Regions from separate parts of the Homo sapiens genome. Here all the other regions are linked to region 4. Evidence: promoter capture Hi-C in 16 types of primary human blood cells and fetal thymus (Javierre and others, 2016). All regions are on one chromosome and are shown on one strand. Each heading gives the region's core, a stretch centred on a gene start or on the middle of the fragment in contact. The rest is flanking DNA. Distances are from core to core; before and after follow the strand shown. Region 1 overlaps MSH4 (mutS homolog 4). Region 2 overlaps PDE4B (phosphodiesterase 4B). Region 3 overlaps SLC35D1 (solute carrier family 35 member D1). Region 4 holds the start of ZRANB2 (zinc finger RANBP2-type containing 2). Region 5 overlaps MIER1 (MIER1 transcriptional regulator). Region 6 has its middle 1.6 kb from the start of ST6GALNAC3. Region 7 overlaps ACADM (acyl-CoA dehydrogenase medium chain).

Region 1 (2,915 bases), core at 393-2,892, 4.7 Mb after region 4:
AGCTGAGATTGCGCCACTGCATTTCAGCCTGGGTGACACAGTGAGACCCTGACTCAAAACAAACAAACAAAAAAGATGCATGTCCTTCAAATCATTTATTATTTTGTTAGTCTCTATTCATGACAAAGCATCACCATTTTTCACACACGATTGCAACACAATGGTAAAGTAACAAATACCAAATCCAATGGTCATTTTTCAGTTCATCTCATGTGACCTTTCTGCTGTATTTAATGTTCTTAATTTCTTTATTTTTAGAAACAGAGTCTCGCTATGCTGCCCATGCTGGTCTCAAACTCCTGGTCTCAAGTGCTCCTGCCTCGGTCTGCCCAAGCATTGGGATTACAGGCATGAGCCACTGCTGCCTGGCCTATGTTTAATGTTCTTGACTGGTCTTCTCTTAAACTCTTTTAATTTGGCTTCCTTGATTCCACTTGCCCCTGTTTTTCTGCTACCTCCCAGAGAATTGCTGTGCCCACCTTTGTTCCCAAATTATGGGCATGTCATTAAAGCTTTTTTTCCTAGGCCACTTCTACCTAGATGTGACTATCTCCACAGCTCAGATCTCATCTACACTCCAGACTTACTTCAGACTGTCTTCTGAAGTTTTTATTGATGGACTAATGGATACCTCAGGCTGACTATATGATTAATTAAATTCCTCTCTGCACTTTTTTTTTTTTTTTGAGACAGAGTCTTGCTCTGTTGCCCAGGCTGGAGTGCAGTGGCATGGTCATGACTCACTGCAGCCTCAAATTCCTGGGCTCAAGCGATCCTCCCACCTCAGCCTCCCGAGTAGCTGGGACCAAGGCATGTGCCCCTACAGATGGCTAATTTAAAAAATTTTTTTGTAGAGACAGTGTTTTCCTACGTTGCCCAGCCTGGTCTCGAACTTCTAGGCTCAAGCGATCCTCCTACCTCAGCCTCCCAAAATGCTGGGATTACAGGTGTGAGCCACTGCACCTAGCCCTCAAACTCTTAAGTGTTCTTCCATCCTTGTAGCTTACTTACTGTACCACCAGAGTTATGTGGAAAATGATCTTATCATGTCCCTTGCCACTTAAATCAGTAGACCTGTATCTGCAGGTAAAAGATCAAACTCTCTAGAAGGATAGCCAAAGCAATTGGGATCGGTTTCTAATCTTTACAGATTTATCCCTCATCATTTAATATTTACCCTGCTTTCTAACAAAACTGAGCTACTTGCAATTCCTTTAAAGCAACATGAATGTTCACATTGTCAGTCTAATCCCTCTCTTCATCAGATGCTTGGTCACCCACTTATTTATCAGTAATGATAACATTCACTAATTTATATGCACCTACTTTGTTCTGGCTTCTTACTAGGCAGACGGTATCTTTGATCCTCACAATAATTTTGCAGAGTAGATTTTTTTTTTGTTCCTGTTTTACAGATAGAACCAAGGCCCAAATAGGCGAACAAAGGTTCAAATTATGTTAGCAGCTGGGGATAATAATCTGTGCTCTCAATGAACTTAAGGTTCAGTAGAGAAGACAGACTTAAAAATCAACAAATACACATTTAAGAAATAACTGTATTTGAGGTATTTATAATTTTTGAGGTAGGTATAATTAAAGTATGGGGACAAAAGTGGGAAAAGACATTTCACAGAGTAAGTGCACCTTGAACTGGTCTTCAAGAATAAGTAGGAAGAAGAATGCCAGCCAAAGGGAAACAGCTGGAGCGCATTCTTGAGAAAAACACGTGCAAAGGCACAGAAGAATCATGTAAAACTGCTAATAATTTTGCTTGGCTAGAGCAGGAGAGTGATCTAGGTAGATAAACTTGAATGTAGATATAGTTGTGAGAATTAGATCTGGGAGACAAATTTAACCCAGAGACCCCCCATATTCAACACCAGGTCTCTGGTTTTGGTGACTGGATAGATGGTAGTAGTATTTTCTGATTCTGGGAATTTTGTAGGCAAAGCAAATTTTAGAGGGAAGATGATGAGCTCTGTTATGGACATGCTGAGTGTGAAAAGCCTGTGGGATATCCATATATTTATATTAAGATAATTGAATATAGGAAACTAGAGCTAAGAAGAGAGAAACTTGAGGGAAATATGGATTTGAAAGTTACCAGTATGTTGGGACCACAGCAGAGAATATGAAGACTATATAGCAAAATAGAGGTCAAGGAAGTAGGAGGAGAATTAAGACAAGTGAATGAGTTTCAAGAAAGGGTATATAGTCTAAAAGTAGTCTGAGAACAAGAAACAGCCCTCTCCATCTCCAGTTTCCGCATCTCCAGTTTCTGGCAACCACTCTCTTCCTTAGCTCCCTAAAGCCTAGAAATGCTAATGGAGCACATTTTATGCTGGTTCTACACACGTCTTTATGATAGCACCCCTACACCCTGTCCACACCTTTGTAAATATTCTCTTTATCAAATTATCCCAGTTTGAGTATATCATTGATTCCTGCTGGAACCCATATAATGAAGTTATATTTTACCCTATGGTGAGTATGGGGAGACACATAGGAATTGTAAGAAAGAGAGATACTGATCAGATTTGCTTTTCAGAAAGATTATTGGTGATGATTCGAAGAATAGATTAGAGAGGTGTAATACTGGAAGCAAGGAGAAGAAGAAGTAGGAAACTTGCACAAGGACCAAAGAAGATACAGGCTTAAAATGGGCTGGGAGGAGTAGAGAGGGATTTAAATTTTAGTGATGTTAAAAAAAAAGAATTCTAGCACTCAGTCACTGAGTGTTAGGGTTGATGAAGGAAGAATTGAGAATGTCTCCTAAGCTTATGACTTGAGTGACAAGGGACAAGCTGGTACAATTAACCATACTGGTAATAAAGAATTAATTTTGAGGGAAAGATAGAGTTCACTTTTGGACATTTAGAATGCTGGGAAGATACCTAAAGGTTTATGCCCAAGAG
Region 2 (3,047 bases), core at 548-3,047, 4.7 Mb before region 4:
GTTCTGTCTCTTCAGAAAAGGCTTCCTTGGAAGAAGTGCTCTTCTGGAAGCAAACAGAGGAGGCAAGGGGTTGTTTCGGACACACTAGAGAGTAAGTCAGAGAATCTTCGTGTTGAGGCAGCATTGCAAAATTGAAGATGAAGAAAGGAAGGAAGGTATGTGTAAGTCTGGCTTGAAATGAGTTTTATTAAAAACACCTCAATTCTTGTCTGCACATTTTTGAAGAGTGTGAAAAAAAAATGGAGGAAGTTACCTCCAGTGGTTTTGTGGCTTTTTAAGCATGACATACAGGATATTGAATTTAACCCCTGTTTATCTTGAAGTGTATGAATATTTCGGGGATAAACAAAGCAACTATTCTTTGAAATATGCGTCTGTGGCCAAGTGATTCCAGTTACTTGGAATCACAGTTCTGTTGATTCTCTTTTCTGCTTCAAGTATTTGCACACCACAGACATAAGATTATTCATATAATAATTTTTAAAAACCATGTGGTCTTGCTAGAATTTCTGTATAAATGTATAAAAATGTCTTTTAAATATGGCAGGAATGTTATATTAGAACTCCATGTGAGATTTTACATTTTATTAGTGCCTATTGTGTGTTTGTATTTCAGAAATCTTGGTAGAGTTTATAAATGCTATTTCTCTCAAAAACAGTCGTGTATATAGGAGAGTCCAAGTGCTTTTTACAACTCTCTGTAGCTTCATTAATTCATCTAGCATTTATAAAGTTATTTCAGTGCTTATTAAGATAGATTTCTTAAGCCAGTAACCTGAAGTATTTGTTTAGATTCACAAACTTTTGGATATAAAATGACATGTTAAGGATATGTAAAAAGAATTTTAATTATCTAGCAAAAAAATGTGATTTTCACAACAATATTTTTTGTGTGAAATACCAACAATATTTCCAGAAAGTCTAGAGTCTTAGGGCAACAAATTGGAGCCCCCAGCTTTAATCAAAATAAAAATCTGCAGAGTGTTCACATCTGGCTCCACCTGAAAGTCCGGTTCAGAATTTCCCTGTGATCCTGGCACTTGCAGAAGGGAAGTTTTAGCTTTGTTTAGTATAACAAGAGCTGCAGGACTCCCAGGCCAATAAACGTGTTCACGTAAAACTCCAGACAGCTTCTTTTAGACTGGAGTCTTATCAGGGAGACCTCATTTTCCCTCTAATTAAAGGAAAGATTTAAGGGAGAGAAAGGAATAGCCTATGCCTCTTACTTGTGCGGGTCAGTGTTCGCTGAATTAGAAGTTATTCCAACATGAACACAATCCTCAGGATGAATGACTGCCTAGACTTTGAACGTAATGGTCAACCAGTTTTCACCCGAATTTTGACTGTTTCATTTAGAAGAAAAGCAAAATGAGAAAAAGCTTTCCTCATTTCTCCTTGAGATGGCAAAGCACTCAGAAATGACATCACATACCCTAAAGAACCCTGGGATGACTAAGGCAGAGAGAGTCTGAGAAAACTCTTTGGTGCTTCTGCCTTTAGTTTTAGGACACATTTATGCAGATGAGCTTATAAGAGACCGTTCCCTCCGCCTTCTTCCTCAGAGGAAGTTTCTTGGTAGATCACCGACACCTCATCCAGGCGGGGGGTTGGGGGGAAACTTGGCACCAGCCATCCCAGGCAGAGCACCACTGTGATTTGTTCTCCTGGTGGAGAGAGCTGGAAGGAAGGAGCCAGCGTGCAAATAATGAAGGAGCACGGGGGCACCTTCAGTAGCACCGGAATCAGCGGTGGTAGCGGTGACTCTGCTATGGACAGCCTGCAGCCGCTCCAGCCTAACTACATGCCTGTGTGTTTGTTTGCAGAAGAATCTTATCAAAAATTAGCAATGGAAACGCTGGAGGAATTAGACTGGTGTTTAGACCAGCTAGAGACCATACAGACCTACCGGTCTGTCAGTGAGATGGCTTCTAACAAGGTAAGAGATGATCTTTTTATTCATTAAAGTGTGATCATGCAGGGAGCTCCAGCTCCCCTCACCCCTGTCTGCAGCAGAGTGCACCAGGGAATGCTACCAACTCTAAGAATATGTTTGTTGCTTTGTCTAGAAGATTCTCTTCCAAAGTGTCACACTCTACTTGTGTCTTGATGCTACAGCAAAAGTTTAAAATCCTCAGTACGCTTCAATTTCCAGAAACAAAACTTCTCTCTTACTGATGCAGTTTGGAATAGGTTTAAGGTGAGAGATGTCTGTCTGTAAAGCTTCCAAATCAATATAACATTGAAAGTGCTTTAAAATTTTTTTACAATTATCAGGAAGCTAAAATCTGAGTTAGTCTTGTTGCATTGCAATCAGGTGTCACATATTTATTTTTAAACAAGAAAGTAGTTTAACCTTCATATATCAATGGGAAAGAATGGTCTGTGTTGAAGTTTGATAAATTCCCTCTAAAAAGAAGGATATCCTGGGATTTTCTAAGATTTCTTTTGCGATGCTGGCATGACCTAAGATAAAAAAGAAACAATATGCTTTGTCTCCAAAACCAGAGGTTTTCTTTAAGTTTGCTGATTTTCATAGTGAAATCATTTGAAATTGCTTCATGCATACTGCCCCCAAAATGGTTTTATTTACAATCCCCAGACAAAGCTTAATGTTGAAGAGCCTTAATTATCTATCATTATATCATTTGTTTAATTAACACCTGGACTTAGAATGCTAATTTATGTAGTGAGAGTTGTTGCTTTTTGTTTGTATTTTTACCTTGGAGAATATTATATTAAATACATATTGCTATAAAGTTATACAAAGTTATATATGTGTGTGTACACACACACACACACACATACACTTTGTTAAAAAGCCTTACACCATACCCTCATAGGTGCACATTTCAGAGTCCCAGTCATTCTAGCCTGAAGTATCATCTTGTTGTCTACGTTTCTGGGGCTGAGAAGATATTTTGCTCCACACCTGCCAGCATGCCCTTTCCAGCCCTGAGGTGCACCAGTGAGTGTGTGTCCCTTCTCCAGCTTTCCTGGGGTAAAAGTACCACCTTTGGATCAAGGCTTGCTGGCTGCGGCTCAGAGGA
Region 3 (3,145 bases), core at 637-3,136, 4.0 Mb before region 4:
AGCAGTTAGCTATATAGCCAATTTCTAGTAACCAATTACGCCACTCTCTTTTTTTTAGAATGAAATTTTACTTGGAGATTGGACTTGTAAAACAGGACTGGACTGATAATATTTTCTTCCACCTATACTACAGGAATGTGATGAAGGTAAATGAGTCAATTCAAGAAGTACACTGGAACTCCTGGATGGAAAACATATGTCTGGCAGAATGTGTGGCATTAGTAAATACATATATGCATGCCCTGGGCTGATTAAAATGTTGTAGAAGACTTCTAGCATCATTATAATTTTCTAGGTCTGTGGGTATACATTTTCCTCATGTATTTTAAAACTAAAACTTAAGAAAAATGGGAAAAGCTTTAATAACCTAATAGAATATCTAAGTTATGGCATTTGTGACATATCTTATGTGAGGCCAATTAAAGCAATGTTATTGTTCATTATTCGAAAAGGCAAGCAAATGTTTCATAGTCATTTTCCTCACCTCACAGAAGAGGAGACATGCTTTTCTTTAGCAGCATGCAAAATTAAGGAACGCCAGGCCAGGCGCGGTGGCTCACGCCTGTAATCCCAGCACTTTGGGAGGCCAAGGCAGGCGGATCACGAGGTCAGGAGATCGAGACCATCCTGGCTAACATGGTGAAACTCCGTGTCTACTAAGAATACAAAAAATTAGCTGGGTGTGGTGGCAGACACCTGTAGTCCCAGCTACTCGGGAGGCTGAGGCAGGAGAATGGCGTAAACCTGGGAGGCGGAGCTTGCAGTGAGCCGAGAGCCCACTACTGGACTCCAGCCTGGGCGACAGAGCAAGACTCCGTCTCAAAAAAAAAAAAAAGAAATGCCACATGGTTTATAAAAACACACAGGCTCTGAAGAAAGCCACAGATTCAAATTTCAGCTCTGCCATTAGCTCTGTGACCTTAAGTAAGTTATTGAACTTAAGTTTTAGTTTCTTCAACTATAAAATAGGAAAATTATACCCATACCTCTCAGAGGTGTTGTGAAGAATACATAATAAGATGTGTAAAATGCCAAACATATTGTGTGGCACATGCTATGTGCTCAGCACAACGACAGTAACAAATTCTAAATTACATCAATTTAAATTTTAACAATCCCAAGAATCTTATTTTTGTCAACCTTTATCTTAATACAGCCAAAAAGATTTAACCTTTTCAAGAGTCTTCTAGATGCTTTTCAAAGATATAATTCTTATTTAGGCAATAAAAAATTGTTATTGATAAGCAATCATTTATTATCAATAATTATTGACAATTTATAATGTGCTAGTCATAGGCCCACATCTTACCTGGCAGCTACAAAGGCTCCAATAATCATTGCAAATACAGTCATTTTAATACCCCAAGAAAAAGTCTTCCTACAAAACAAAAAATTTTAAAATACACACATGACTTTATTCCCACACTCATTTTACAACAGAAGCAAAAAATGGGATATGCTTTCTCAAAAGCTATAAACAATCGTATTTTAAACATTTCTGAGAAACTGATATTTAAAAGAACCCCTTTGATAAAGCAAAAATTTATTGTTATATAAGTTATTACACCCACTTTTAAAATTTTCACCTATTGTCATTATTAGTGAGTTTGAATTTTTGTGAAGCAGAATTTCTTTAACAGAAAAATGTCACATTCATTTGGAGCTAGACATGAACACTATTTAAAACCTATACCTATGATTCTGATCCAGCTTCTCCCGGTGGCAGTAGTACAGAAATTCTAGAAAGTAAATCTCACGTTCAGATAAGATTTTCAACTCTAATTCATAACCTTCCCAACTACCACTCCCACAAACTATCAATTCCAGCAGCCAAGAGAGAGGGTTGCTTAAACTTCTCAAAAGGTAAGGTAGGAACAAGACAAATAATTTAATATCTCACATATGCTGGGCACCTTTTCAAGGTGATTTAAAGAACAGATATATTAGAAACTTAGCTCACTTGAGTAAAACTCCTTCAGCAAACATTGTAAACAGGATGGAGAACCTTCTCAGAACTGTAAACATTGGCAAGCTGGAAAAAAAAAAGATAATTAGGTAAAATAGAATTTAACAATTTGTTTTAAACTAAGATTTTCCAAATTGGTAGTTAAAATAATGCTATTCTTCCATTATGGAAATTCCATACAAATTAATTTATGGTTAAACCCCTGCTTCTCTCTAGAAGCAATTCCTACTTGAAAGCCTACAACAGTTGCTTTTAAAAAACTACTAGAAGTGAGAAACATTAAATTAACTACAAAACTTTATTCTAATTATGCAAAACCCTAAGCTGTAAATATGTCAGTTTTTAATAGAAAAAGGCTTCCTTCTCATTTTTTCACTAGTCTGACCTCCCTTCCCACCCCCTAGACCACCCAAAAACCATCTATGAAAATCTTACCCCATGAAATGCCTTGACTGTCCTTTTGTGGATGTAATTTTGTCTTCATCTAAATTCCCAGAGCATTTTGCTTGTACTAATCAAACATACAGCCTCTTGCAATATAGTTATTTCTGAATATATCTTATCTCACTCCAAAGTGCCTTATACTTAGCTGGCAATCAAAGATAGGTGTGAATGAATGGTTGGATGAGATGGATGAAAAAAAGCAAACTCTACACAAGCAGCACTTTGCAGAAGGCCTGCATTTCTTTCCTGGTGGGTAATGAAATGGAAAAAAATGTCCCACCCATGATAAATCTGACTTCCTTGGAACCCTCTTCAGAGATATCATCTCGGTCATTCTGTCAGGTTTCTCGGGTTTTAAAGGAAGAAATGAAAAACACCTTGTCCTTGATGCTCAAAAATCTCTCCATTCTATTTTACAATGCCAGGGTTTTAGCTTGTGTGGTAGTGGTGAAGCCATGGGGTTTCTGTTAAATGTTTTCTCTATTTGTGTCATTTTAATACCACACACAACCGATATGTACACTACAATAAGAGCAGAAGCCAGAAACCGGGAGGTTAGAGGGAAAGACAGTGTTACCATGGAGAGGAGAGCTATTGCTTCTTTCTGAAAATAAGTATGTTGCCTCTACAGTTACATGCCATGTGTAAGATATTAATAATATTTTTATCAGGGTTCTAGCTGATGTTACCTTACTTCACATTAAAAGAAAAACTGCAAAAGTTCTTGTGCCTACC
Region 4 (3,153 bases), core at 630-3,129:
CAGTAGGTAGGATGCTAAGGAACCAAATATGATAGGTTGTACTGACTAAAAATACAAAAAGATTCAATAATTGTAAGAAAACTGAGTTTTACAGGGCATTTCTCAAACCTCTGAGACTTCGCTGAAAAAAATGACACAACCACCAAAACCAATAATCTCAACACATGTAGTACAGTAAGACTTTATGCTTATACTCAACAAACTCAAACCTAAAGAATTACTGGTTCACTCACATGACCTTAGAAGTGTACGTGTATATTGGTAAAAGTATGTTAAATGCTCTGGATAACATGGAATGCTTAAACTTTAAAAAGCTGATTTTTAAGGCATTATACTAGAATACAATACAGATGTGAAGTATGGGATGACACTAAAGTGAAACACTCTAAATAATATTTAGGTTAAGTTTTTCCCCTAAAAATATTCCTTTTAACTCCATTAAGCATGGAAAATATACTCTGAAAATTTATCCTGCATTTAAACATATTGTACAAACAACATTCTATTCATATATTTGTAAATGAGTTGAAATGAACTCTCATTGAGAGTCCTACCTCTGGGTGTGCTGTCATTAAAGACACTGACAAAAGCACATTATTTTACAGGTAACAACAAAGTCAGAAGTTGTTGTTCTAAATCTTTTGAACGTTTTCAATAATGTCTTACCACTCAGAGCAATACTATCCATAACATATAACTTTGGTTCTATTCAGTATCATTTGTTAGGCTTGAACTACTCCTTCAGGTCATCTTAATATCAAATTACTATCAATAGCCACCAATTAGAATTTGCTACACGTCACTGTTTACACACCCTATCCATGTTATTTCATGTTTTCATTAAAAAAAAAATTCTATTCCTTTTTTAGCAGTTAAATAAGTAATAGAATTTTAACTAAACCCAGGTTTATTTCAAAGTTTTTGCTTTTTACAATCAAAACCTATTTGTGGCTAACTTAGGTACAACAAATAAAAGGCTTTTATGTGAACATGAGTTGTACATTAAATTATTTTCCATGTTATTTCCGAATAGATACACCTATTTGTGCACCCTTCAAAAAAAATCTGATTAACTATCTAGTCGAGTACTGGCTTTGGCAACAATGTCAAAAAGCAGAGCCACTAACACACGTGCTTCTCTGCTGCAGGCATCTTAAGGGCTGAGTAGGCAAAAACACAGGCCTCTTCCCTCCTTTTCGGCTCTAAGGAGGCGAAAAGCCCAATTCTTGTGGAGAAATGATCCACAAAGAAAATGTCAGAATTTCCCAAACCGAAGAGGGTAGAGCTTCCGGAAAAGGGGAAAATAGTATGGAGGAAAAGTTTGAGTAAAAATACAAAACAAGGTGAACTATAAGAGGCAAAAGGACGAGTGCGAGAAAGCAATATTTTCCGTGAACAAGAGTAAAGTTCTGCAGAGAAAAGTCACGTGGGGGAGATCCAACACCAAGCTGGCCTGACTGGAGAGGTTTCCTATCGCTAAAACCTGGCCGGGGCGGGGGAGGGGGGTGGGGGCAAAAAGGTAGGCCATCTCGCACTCTAAAAAGAGAGGCTACCTTGCGGAGGTAATGTCGAGGAAACGCTGAAGACATATCTAGAACAAAGGCTCCCGGAAAGACCTCTCTCGTGAGGAGATTGGGAGCCTTCTTCCCGCCAGGGAACTGGCGGTTCGCCGCCTCAACCCGTCTTAAGGCACAGAAAATCATAAAAAAGGAAAATGCCGGACGGACCTCGGAAAGCTTCCACTAACAAACTCCGTCCCAATTCAGGACCCTTCTTGAACTCACTTTTTGTCAGGGCAAATCCAGTCCCCGTCACTGACTCGGAAATTCTTGGTCGACATCTTGAACGCCACCAGCACAGCCACCCGCAGCTATGTCTTCACAGGAGGAAAACGGGCCGGGGACTTTCGGCAACTCGGGGCTGTCCCCACACTGCCTGACTCGCGCCTACTACTGTGTCAGGGTTTGATAATGAGGGAACTAGCCAGGAATTCAGCTTGTACGTTGTTGTCCAGACTAAGATGCCTGTGCTACTGTTTGTTAGATGGAAAAGTTAAAATACAAATATCTTTTCTAGAACTAAACTCACAGGCGCCATAAGGACAACCCAGGCAGGAGGCCTTCGTGGCACTAGAAGCCTCGGAGAGCCCCCTACAGGTGGGAGGACCCAAGAGTAAAGTACTTCCGCTTCCTTAGGTGGAGCTGGAAAGGTGGAGGCGGAAGTGACTGATCAATTCAGGGGCGTGGGGTTCGTTTAGGGTAAGAGGCGGCTCGGGCTCTTCAAGTGTTTAGAGAAATTATTTTAATAAGGCATAAAAATTCTGTTATTTCATACACATGGGATGTCGTTTGGAAACCTATTTTTATATATACATAAATAGGTGTAACAGATAAGTAAGCAACTTATACATGGGAACCAGCTGGTAATTTTAAAACTGAGACATTGTCAACACTGTTTAAATTACCAGTGTCTTTTCTGATACCATCCCATTACTTTCTTCCACAGATAACACTTTCCCATATTTGGGATTTATTCTTTTGCTTTTTAAAAATTTATGTACGTTGTTAGTCCAAACTGCACCATTTTTGTAAGCCCCCCTGCCATTTTGCAGACCTTAGTCAAAGTGAAACATTCCACGGGGTTCGGGCGTGAGAAACAGGCTGCCTCTTATACTCTGCTGGGAGAAAGTACCACATTCCACTGGAACAAGGGCCAGAGCCGCCTCGTCCTGGGAACACCTTATCAACATGTTCCCAGGAAGCAGGCCATGGCCCCCCAGACCACTCCCACCCAGGCCTATAAATCACCCCAGCCTGTAAGAAGCAACGGGCACTGGCATTAAGCTGGTCTCCCACCTCTGTAGGTCTTATGCTGGACATAAATCCTGTATTTGTTGTTAAGCCACCCTCTCTTTCTTTAATCCTTGCCTTCCCTTCAAAACCTAACATACATGTATGTTTAATTTTATGAGCTGTGTAAGCATAGTTGATTCTGTACTCTTTTTTTGTTCATTATGCTTCTAAATTAATCCTAGGTAGTTGCATGTAGAAGTGTATAGGTGTAATTCTTTTATTTGCACTGATGTATACTGATACTATTCCGTTTTGTGGTTTTGTGACAGTTTATTCCTTCTGTTTCTCAGGCTTGGTATTA
Region 5 (3,230 bases), core at 669-3,168, 4.2 Mb before region 4:
TGAAACTAACGAAAGATGATGCTGATTGTCACTATAGATGTGGGGCTTCCAAATGTAATAGGCTAAGTTTTTTAGATGTAGGTATTTTCAACCAAATTAGTAATTATCCATAAAATTTTACCACCACATCATAAAGACATGGTGTAGGCTGTTGCTTTTAAATAAAAATTTCAGGAAATAGTTTATAAACTAATCTCAAAAGAGACTCATGGACGCTGAAAATTGTTAGATATAGAATTTTTTAGTTTTGGATGTGTTGTATTAATCTATTTCAGTCAGCTAACCCCAGAGTCTAAATTGTTATAAGTACAGTATTTTCTTGGTGCATTTTGAGAGGTACCTTTTTGGATTGCATAACAGATAGGTTTATATAGTATATATATATATGTTACTTGTATTTGAATCAGGTGTTGGTACTGAATAAAAGGTTATATTTCTTAGGTATATGTAAATTGCCAAAGAAGTTTGTTCATTGGTTCGTTTAAGGTACTGGTTGAAGTAAGATTGTGCTCCTAAATGCTTTTGTTAAAAGCATAATAATAACTGAGGGGTTTGTGTGTGCGTGCGCCTTATAGCCTCTATAGAATTGTTCAATAACTTTTGAATGGAAGATTCAGTAAATTGCTTACAAATGATTTATCAATATAATAGCAGTTTTGAGTAGCTTAATGTCATAAAAATTAATGTTACTTTGCCTGAAAATAAGGAGGCTTTTAGGTGGGGAATAGGAGCTGAAGAGGCATTTATTCAGGCTTTGTATAGTGGTTTTTTGTTTTGGGACATTAATCACAAACCTCACATAAAATTGGAATTCAGCACACTTTTTTAGTTTAAAAATTTTATACACAATTCCAACAGAACTACTGTTTTGGATATCACATTAATAAATAACAAAGTGTAATAATTTTAAGCAGACACAATTAATGGTGCATTTTCTTATGCCTTTAGCTCTCTCATGTCCTATTTTCAACTCTTCTAGTATGAATAGGCTTTAAAAATAAATTTTTTTTTGTTAACCCAAGTATAAATATTAACTGTTTGCATTTGGATACAAAGAAGATATCTGTTGAATTAATCCAAAGTGCTGAAGAACTAAGGGTAATGGATGGAAACAACAAGGAGGTAGATTCTGGCATAATAAAAGAAAGAATGTTTTAAACATTTGAACTTTTTTTGAAAAGAGCAGCCTTTTTATGAGATATAGTGAGTCACTGGAGGGGTTTAAACATAGGCAGAAAGCCTGGTAGTAGAAGCATGATGAGAGATTACTATCTTGACAGGGTAGAGAATTGACTAAAAGATCTCTAAGGTCCCATCCAACACTAAAATTCTATAACTAGTGAATAGTTAATTTTTATATATTTAATACTGAAGAGGGTAAGTAAGCGTTTTGAGAAAGACTTTTCATTCCGTAAGGTGGCTCCTGAAAATTTTACAGTTAGGTGTATCACTAAAATAAAATAATAGTGGAAGGATACTGAATTCAGTGGTAATGTGTTACCTATGAATTGCAGTATTAGAGCTGTTTCTTTTTTATAATATCTGAACCTAAAAAACCCACTGAATCCACATTTATAAAAAGGGGAAGGGGAAAAATGTAGAGAGTTTTTTTCCCTCAATAATAATAATACCATTTAAAACTAGTAATATTGATACACAATATTAATAAACTTAAAGAGTTATTTAACAGTAAGATAGATACCCATTCAGAAATGTTTCAGACTTCCATTTTCCTGACAAGTTTAGGATTCATTCAGTAGGTTAATAGACTATGATCCCCTGCTCTTTATCATAGTTGGGATTTCTGTTGGTAGTTTAACTGAAGAATCAAAGATTCAGTGTACTTAAGCAAGTTATTTCTGTACCTTGTATTGTAACACTTTTAATTTTCCTTTGGTAGCCAAATTTCATAAATTAGCTTTCATATGTTAATGGAAAACCCTCCTTCATCTCCATGGTATAAAGCCTGAGTTTGTACCTCTAGGCCCCTAATTGTGTCTGTACCCACCTCAGGTCCATGTATATCCATTGTTCTTTGCCTTCAGCTCTTTTCATTAAGTGTATTGATTGAAAACTATTTGGATATGAACTGACACTTTTAAAAAGTCATTTTTATTTCAAGTCCAGAGGATTGACATAATTCAACAGGGTAACTATTAGAAACTATATACCTCTGCTAAAATATTTATTCCCCCAAGGAATCCTGAAAAACACTTTTATATAAGTTTTCTAAAAAATAAAATGAAAATACTGTACAGTACAGTTAATGGTAAAAATTGTTTGTAGATTTGGGAACCTTAAAGTTTTCCTTTCTCTTCTTTCCCTTGCTTTTCTTTCAGTAGAAAATGTGCATCAGATGTTTATGTTTAATTGGTTTACAGACTGTCTGTGGACTCTTTTCCTGTCAAATTACCAGGTAATGTCCTTTCACTTAGCAGCTACTTCATATATCTGTAAATGCAGTTTATTCATGCACAGATTATTATTGGACATAACAGTTTCAAATTAACATTGAATCTTTGGAAATAGGAAAATGCTTGATAGAGTCTAGAATTTTAAGGGAATATAAATAATTTAATAGCCTCCCCTATATTGCATTATAAGTTAAGTATTAACTTTAAGAAAAATTGTATATGTACACATTTATGCAATGTAGTATTGGTTCACATTATTTGGAAGGAATGAATAATTCTCGTATTTAAATGGTTGATTTTGGTAGCCACTTTTGAAACTGCATTAAGAGGAACCCTTGAAGATTAGGAAAAAAATCCCAGTCTTTTGAAATAAAGACTTTCAAACTGGTTTAGTAAAATATGTTAGTGACTGTTTTAATGTCACCTTTGTGTTATTCAGTATGTGCCTTAGTATAATGGAAGTGAAACATGTTAGTTACTTTGAAATCATTGGTTCTGGCCATCATCAGCATTGGCATCACGGCCAATTGGCAGCTGTAGGCCAATACATTAAAATAAACTTTCAAGTTACAGGCATTTCAGGCATTGCAAATAAGTAGGTTCTCCCTCCATGCTACTAAATAGATGATATCCATAAAACAGTCAATTTTCAGTATTTTAAATTTTGTCTAGTTGTGCAAAATTCAGTACATAACTGTGTTGCTACCGGCATGACAGAAGTGTGTGAGAAAACGCAAATGACATGAGGATGGCGGACTGCCTATCATAACCCCTTCCATTAATTTTTGCTCTGACCTCTCTAGAGATTTGGGGATA
Region 6 (3,073 bases), core at 377-2,876, 5.0 Mb after region 4:
GCACCCCCACGTAGTAGGTGAGATGCAGCAGTGAGAATCTTTGATTGGAAGTCATTCTCATGCACAGAAGGTGGTAACAGCTTGGTTGGTGAGAGACTGATGAGAAGTGCTGGGTCTTTGTTAAGGTATGACCCAGGGGCTGAGGGTTGAAAAATACAGGGTGAGTGTATGTATCCGGTACACTCAGATTGATAGAGTGTACCTATCCTCTGCATACTCACATATTTACCCTAGGTTTTGTATCCTAGTCTGTATCCCGGGGAGGATTCATACTTACCCTAAGTTTTCCTATGGCTACACTAAGACAACAGATGAAATGTGAAGAGTGACAAATGACAGAAATTGGGCTTCTAACATACTGGACAGCTGAATGTAGCAGTTAAGATGGCAAACCCACAAGTCCCTAGATTCAAACCCCTGTTCCCCTAGTTACCAGCTGGGGATGATAACATCCATGTGGATGTTGTGAGGATCAAATGAGATACTTTCTTTAATTGCAGGATGCTCCATTTTGTTATTATTATTTTTGGAAATAGAAACTCTTGGCTTTAAGTCACATAATGTTAGAGCTGGAAAATTATGCTACACCTATGGATTTGACTAAGCTGTTCCTGTAGTTTGGCCAGTTTTAAAACAAAAAAATCCTGGCAACACACTCCTATCCTCCCAGCCCCAACAAATCTGGCTATCTCCATTCCCTGGTAGGTTCAAAACCTGTTTTTATTTCCATCCAAAAGCTTCCCCCCCACCCCCAGACATCGAGTGGTCCATCTAAAACAGTGATTGTTAATACTGTTTTGTAAATCTTCCAGTCCAGATTTATTCTAGAACTTGAGTTTGTTTTTAGATTGTTATAAATGTGCCTTTATTTCTAGCTGTTTGACATAACTTTTGGATGTTAATAAAAAAAATAACACCTTGGGAAGTATGGACATGGGTGGATAGAAATGTAATTGAGAAAGCCATATCCAAGTAGATTGAGGGAATTAGTAAAGGCCTCATCACGGCATACCCAAGTCATAACATGTTAAAAGTTTGCTCCGTTGGTGTTCATCCTCCTGAGACACCCAAGGCTGATGGCAATTATCCTATTCATCTTCTCCCACAAGTCTGTCTTTAGCGGAAGATTTTTTTCTTTACATAAAGAGCTATCATATAAAAAGTGCTCATAGTGCCAGAAATTGAGGTAAATGCAATTTGCAAACATTATTATCTCATTTAATTCTCTTGAGGATAGATAATATTAGATAAGGTAAGGATTAAAGAGAGGTTAAGAAACTTGATCAAGGACACCCAGCAGGGAAGTACTTAGCAGGGCTGTTCACTAGGGCCTGCTGTTTCTCTTTCCAGATGTACAGACTTTCTAGAGAGAACGATGTGCTCTGCCCACCCTCACCCCTTTGCTCTGCTGTTCTGCCAGGGACATGCAGGAGACGGAGGCCTTCCTCTTAACCGCAAGAGGCCTTCCTTTTTTACTAATATTCCTCAGCACAGACCCTTTACGGGTGTCGGGCTGGGGGACGGTCAGGTGTTTCTCTTTCTCCTTCCTGAGATCTTTGCTTCCAATTTGGCTAAGGCCCTTTCCATGTTATAGTATCATGTATCTCTTATTCTTGTCTTTCTCACTTAACTGTGAGCCCACCTTGATGTTAGATATTCTGAAAGTCATTCTCCTATCCCTGAAAGGTCTTCAATAAAGATTTTTCCTCCACTTAGTGGAAGGTGAATAAAGTTTATTCTTCCATTTAGTAGTGGCTCAATAAAAAAGTTTGTGGAATCAATCAAGGGATGAGTAAATGAATGAAATACTGAATTTTCCTGGCCTATGAAGGACCATGAGCTAAAGCAGCGGTTTAAAGTATATAGTCCCAAACAAAGAATTCTTACTAAAAACACACCGGATCTGTAAGGCAGAGGAGGGAGGGGCGGGAGGAAGAAGTCGAAGAGCAGGGTGTGGTATTCCAGGGAGACTGAAGACAGGAGCTTCCCATGGGACAGGCAGTTCATCCACAGGCTCAGCTTCTGCAACCTCCTTCCTGTGGTTACTCCTGCTCTCTAAGAATTCTGCATGTTCTCATCAAGAAAATACCAAATTCCTTGAAAGCCTGGATTCTGCCTTGTGGTTTGTGAGCCAATCTCATGACACCACCAGCCCACAGTGCTTTTCCTGATTCCATGGAGGCAAACTAGACGGAGCTTCTAGCAAGTGAAACTTCTTTTGGGTAGATATTTGGGGGCCGCTTTTAAAATTTTTCTGACAGACCAAGTGGTAAAAATCTGTGTGTGTACACGGAATGCTCTCTCCCTTCTGCAATGCGTTTACTCTCCTTGTAGAAATAACTGCTTCTCTTAGCCGGCTCTTGCTTGGAGCAGGGAAGAGCAAAGTCCTATCATGTACACATACACAGTTTATAAACATATACTGTACAATCAACATGTACATATATAATACAATATACACATGTGTGCATCCTGTATCTGTATACTGTATATCATGCATATACAATTTCATAAACAAGCTTGTACCAGGAAAAGGCAATAATTTATATATTATACACACATACATGTATATGTAAAATATGTACACACACACAAAATATACCATACAGAGTGTAAGGTTCATGACGTCTTTCTTTCGTTGATATTTGTGCTCACTTATTAGCGGTAAATTATTAATTTTAGATAAGCCCATCACAGAGTGAAGGCTCAATCCTTGAACAGCCCAGGGAGAACTTCGTTGCTACTTTTGAAAAGCCCTTTGATGTGCCCAAAGTCTCCAGAAGGGCGATGCCAAACCCACTCAACTTTGACAAAGTGTGAAACGTCTGTAAAAAGGAGTTCTCTGATGTGTGAGAGGAGACGGAACCGAGAAGAAAAGGCCGTACTCTGCCCCCCGCGGGACCCAGGTCCCCGCCTGCTGCAGAGCGCACTCTGCGCACGTCGAGCCGCGAAAGGTTCACAGAAGAAAACAAGAGAAAGAAGTAGCAGGCACTGAGGAGCCGCCGGCGCCGGCGCCCAGGACGGCACGTGACCCGGGGGCGGGGCCGCGCGGGCCGCGGGCCAGTGGATGGGG
Region 7 (3,057 bases), core at 558-3,057, 4.7 Mb after region 4:
ATAATACATAATACATACTTGTCATTTTTCCTTTTTTTTTTTTTTAAGAGACAGGGTTTCACTCTGTCACCCAAGCTGGATGCAACCTTGACCTCTGGGGCTCCATGGATTCTCTCGCCTCAGCTTCCTGAGCAGTTAGGACAATAGGTCCATGTCAACCACACCTAGCTGATTTTTTAAATTTTTAAATGTTTTGTTGAGACAGGATCTTGCTATATTGCTCAGGCTGGCCCCAAACTCCTGGCCTCAAATGGTTCACCTGCCTCAGCCTCCCAAAATTCTAGAATTATAGGCATGAGCTACCGTGCCCAGACTTTCTCTACCCTCTATCTACCTGCAAGATTGCTATCAACTGGCACCAATCTTAGAAGTAAAGCTGTGATAGAGAGAACACTGGACTGAAATTCTTAAGTATACTTCTGCTAATTCATTGTGAGACTGATACTAGAATTTCCTTACTCTGCATTAGTTTATCAATAAAAAGAGAGATTTGGCTGGGCGCAGTGGCTCGGGCCTGTAATCCCAGCACTTTGGGAGGCCGAGGTGGGCGGATCACGAGGTCAGAAGATCGAGATCCTGGTGAAACCCCGTCTCTACTAAAAATACAAAAAAAAAAATTAGCCGGGCGCGGTGGCAGGCACCTGTAGTCCCAGCTGCTCAGGAGGCTGAGACAGGAGAATGGCGTGAACCCGGGAGGCGGAGCTTGCAGTGAGCCTAGATTGCGCCACTGCACTCCAGTCTGGGCGACAGAGCGAGACTCCGTCTCAAAAAAAAAAAAAAAAAAAAAAAAAAAGAGATTTGATCTTATGCTCTTCAATTCAGCACCAGAATTCAGCTTTTATGTATTGTTTCTCACATCCCCATACAAATGATTACTGTAGTCTTAAACATTCCTCTGTGCATTTGCTCTCATTTTTCTTGCTTGAAATACCCTATTATCTCTTAAATTTTACCTAATCTTTGACGTTAGATGCAACCACATTAAAACACAAGGATACCATGGATTTGAAAAGATGCAGTTAGCAATTGACTCCTCTCCTCAATCAAGCCACCATACTAATTTCATTAATTTTAAAACAATCCCTTATTTTATGTAAACAAATTGTTGGACACCATTTATTAGCATTGCAGCAGGATTTTATGTTATTATCTTTTGAAAAACCTTTCTACCACTTTTACCAGTTGCTTTGTGCTAATTTATAAGCTTGTCTGAGTTTAAAGGAGCTGTAAGCCTAGGCATGGTGTCTCATGCTTGTAATCCCAGCACTTTAGGAGACCACGGCAGGAGGATTGCTTGAGGCCACGAGTTCAAGACCAGCCTGGCATCATAGTGAGACCCTGTCTCTGTGAAAACAAAAAAAATGAAATAGATAGGGTGAGGTGGCTCCCAGCACTTTGGGAGGCCAAGATGGGAGAATCATTTGAGCCCAGGAGTTCTAGACCCATTTGGGCAACATGGCAAAACCCTGTATCTACAAAAATTACAAAAATTAGCCAGATATGGTGGCATGTGCCTGTGATCCCAGCTAGTTGAGAAGCTGTGGTGGGAAGATCATTTAAGGCCAGGAGGTCGAGGCTACAGTGAGTCGTAATTGCACCACTGCACTCCAGCCTGAGTGACAAAATGAGACTGTCTCAAAAAAAAAAAGCAAAATTATGATATTGATATTCTTATATGACACTTTGAAATAAGTTTTATTGCTTTATGTCACTGAGTGTGTTTCATCTATTTCGTTAGATTGATTCTTGTCGTCAGGGAGATGTCTTGTATATTAGTTTCACTTCAGTGTTAGCAAACATTTGATAAATTGGCTTAGGAACTAATAATAAGTTAAACGTTTTTTATATCACCAATTGGAAAAGAAAAACTCACTTGAGCTCTACAGGTTAATATCTATTACTCATTTGTAAAAGTTAAAAATCTTACCTATTTCCTTTAGCATTTGTATTGACATAGGTTTATTTATATTGTGTAGTGAACTCTTGATTAGTCAAAAAATGCACTGTAGTCTGAGTTTCTGATAATCAAGGATTTAAGTCCCCACAATAAATACACATTTCTACATACTGACTTCATAGGACATTTTTCCTTGTTATCCAGTTTTAACTTTTCTAAATAATTTTCCCTTAGAGTTCACCGAACAGCAGAAAGAATTTCAAGCTACTGCTCGTAAATTTGCCAGAGAGGAAATCATCCCAGTGGCTGCAGAATATGATAAAACTGGTGAAGTAGGTATATACATTTTAAAGAGGGAAAAATCTTTTACATTTTTTACAAGATTATGTAATCAAACTATCTGGATTTCAAAATATATTTTAACTCAGTTCTTTTTCTTCTAGTATCCAGTCCCCCTAATTAGAAGAGCCTGGGAACTTGGTTTAATGAACACACACATTCCAGAGAACTGTGGTAAGCTTTCTTTATATTTTTAATACTGGAATGCATATGAGTAAGAAAAATTGTGGAACTCTACTCAGTCATTTTTTTCAAATATTTCTTGCCATTAAATGACTTTCTACCTTTGTCTTCCTGCTCAGACTACAGTGTTTGCCCACTTTTGGAAGCTTGCACTCTATACCTAGATGCGTTTTTCCTTCTTCTAACTGGTTCCAACCTTAACTTGCACCTAAACCTTGGTAACTTCCGTTTCTAGAGTTGGTCAATTTGTTGTGTTTTATTCCTATCTTCTATATTACATTTTATTGAGTCTTTTTTGTGAACCATGATTCTTTTCCTCAGACCCAGTTTTAGAGTTGAATTGAGTTTTAACAAAATCAAGTTAGAACAGGAATACAGGTTCAAATTACAAATAGTAAAATAATTTTTTGAAAATTTTAGAGCTTTAAGAAAGTATAATTTCTTATTGTGCCAGCCAGAACACATGTAGATATTATATTGCAAATTTCCTTTTAAAACAAATTTTGGTCATATTGAAAGCAATTAAAATAGTTTACCTTTATTTCTATTGTGATGTACTACATATTACAATGTGTTGAAACATTTTGATACTGTAGGAGGTCTTGGACTTGGAACTTTTGATGCTTGTTTAATTAGTG

What was found. The method cuts DNA at HindIII sites, captures the fragments that hold promoters and counts their contacts. A CHiCAGO score of 5 or more calls a contact.
Region 1: a fragment that was not itself captured here is called in contact with the fragment with the promoter of ZRANB2 in region 4 in 3 of 17 cell types (naive CD8 T cells, total CD8 T cells and non-activated CD4 T cells); the score reaches 5.5 in naive CD8 T cells.
Region 2: a contact is called between a fragment that was not itself captured here and the fragment with the promoter of ZRANB2 in region 4, in 1 of 17 cell types (naive CD8 T cells). The highest score is 10.4, in naive CD8 T cells.
Region 3: a contact is called between a fragment that was not itself captured here and the fragment with the promoter of ZRANB2 in region 4, in 1 of 17 cell types (naive CD8 T cells). The highest score is 5.2, in naive CD8 T cells.
Region 5: a fragment that was not itself captured here is called in contact with the fragment with the promoter of ZRANB2 in region 4 in 5 of 17 cell types (total B cells, naive CD8 T cells, total CD4 T cells and 2 more); the score reaches 11.1 in total B cells.
Region 6: a fragment that was not itself captured here is called in contact with the fragment with the promoter of ZRANB2 in region 4 in 5 of 17 cell types (non-activated CD4 T cells, total B cells, naive CD8 T cells and 2 more); the score reaches 10.4 in non-activated CD4 T cells.
Region 7: a fragment that was not itself captured here is called in contact with the fragment with the promoter of ZRANB2 in region 4 in 4 of 17 cell types (total B cells, total CD8 T cells, total CD4 T cells and 1 more); the score reaches 11.9 in total B cells.

Annotation. Positions count from the first base shown.
Region 1 is chr1:75,797,889-75,800,803 of GRCh38, forward strand. The region is part of intron 1 of MSH4 (mutS homolog 4); the gene reads left to right. Among named protein-coding and RNA genes, the nearest start is that of MSH4, 2.5 kb to the left of the region's middle. The HindIII fragment of the contact is 2,265 bases long and covers 511-2,775 here.
Region 2 is chr1:66,330,685-66,333,731 of GRCh38, forward strand. PDE4B (phosphodiesterase 4B) reads left to right here. Exons shown (of 17, transcript NM_002600.4): 8 at 1,824-1,936. Among named protein-coding and RNA genes, the nearest start is that of SGIP1, 200 kb to the right of the region's middle. RefSeq lists enhancers at 2,829-2,888, 2,919-2,968. The HindIII fragment of the contact is 841 bases long and covers 1,378-2,218 here.
Region 3 is chr1:67,048,473-67,051,617 of GRCh38, forward strand. It overlaps SLC35D1 (solute carrier family 35 member D1), which reads right to left. Exons shown (of 12, transcript NM_015139.3): 5 at 1,961-2,032; 6 at 1,310-1,378. Among named protein-coding and RNA genes, the nearest start is that of SLC35D1, 4.1 kb to the right of the region's middle. The HindIII fragment of the contact is 3,063 bases long and covers 356-3,145 here.
Region 4 is chr1:71,079,156-71,082,308 of GRCh38, forward strand. ZRANB2 (zinc finger RANBP2-type containing 2) reads right to left here and starts at 1,880. Exons shown (of 10, transcript NM_203350.3): 1 at 1,785-1,880. The coding sequence starts at 1,840. ZRANB2-DT (ZRANB2 divergent transcript) reads left to right here and starts at 2,169. Exons shown (of 4, transcript NR_046217.1): 1 at 2,169-2,258. RefSeq lists an enhancer at 1,830-2,119. The HindIII fragment of the contact is 3,322 bases long and covers 1,735-3,153 here.
Region 5 is chr1:66,926,548-66,929,777 of GRCh38, forward strand. The region is part of intron 2 of MIER1 (MIER1 transcriptional regulator); the gene reads left to right. Among named protein-coding and RNA genes, the nearest start is that of MIER1, 3.2 kb to the left of the region's middle. The HindIII fragment of the contact is 5,334 bases long and covers 1-3,230 here.
Region 6 is chr1:76,071,603-76,074,675 of GRCh38, forward strand. No RefSeq gene overlaps it. Among named protein-coding and RNA genes, the nearest start is that of ST6GALNAC3, 1.6 kb to the right of the region's middle. RefSeq lists a silencer at 2,945-3,073. The HindIII fragment of the contact is 1,782 bases long and covers 736-2,517 here.
Region 7 is chr1:75,730,513-75,733,569 of GRCh38, forward strand. ACADM (acyl-CoA dehydrogenase medium chain) reads left to right here. Exons shown (of 12, transcript NM_000016.6): 3 at 2,132-2,229; 4 at 2,341-2,410; 5 at 3,016-3,057. Among named protein-coding and RNA genes, the nearest start is that of ACADM, 7.3 kb to the left of the region's middle. The HindIII fragment of the contact is 1,211 bases long and covers 1,203-2,413 here.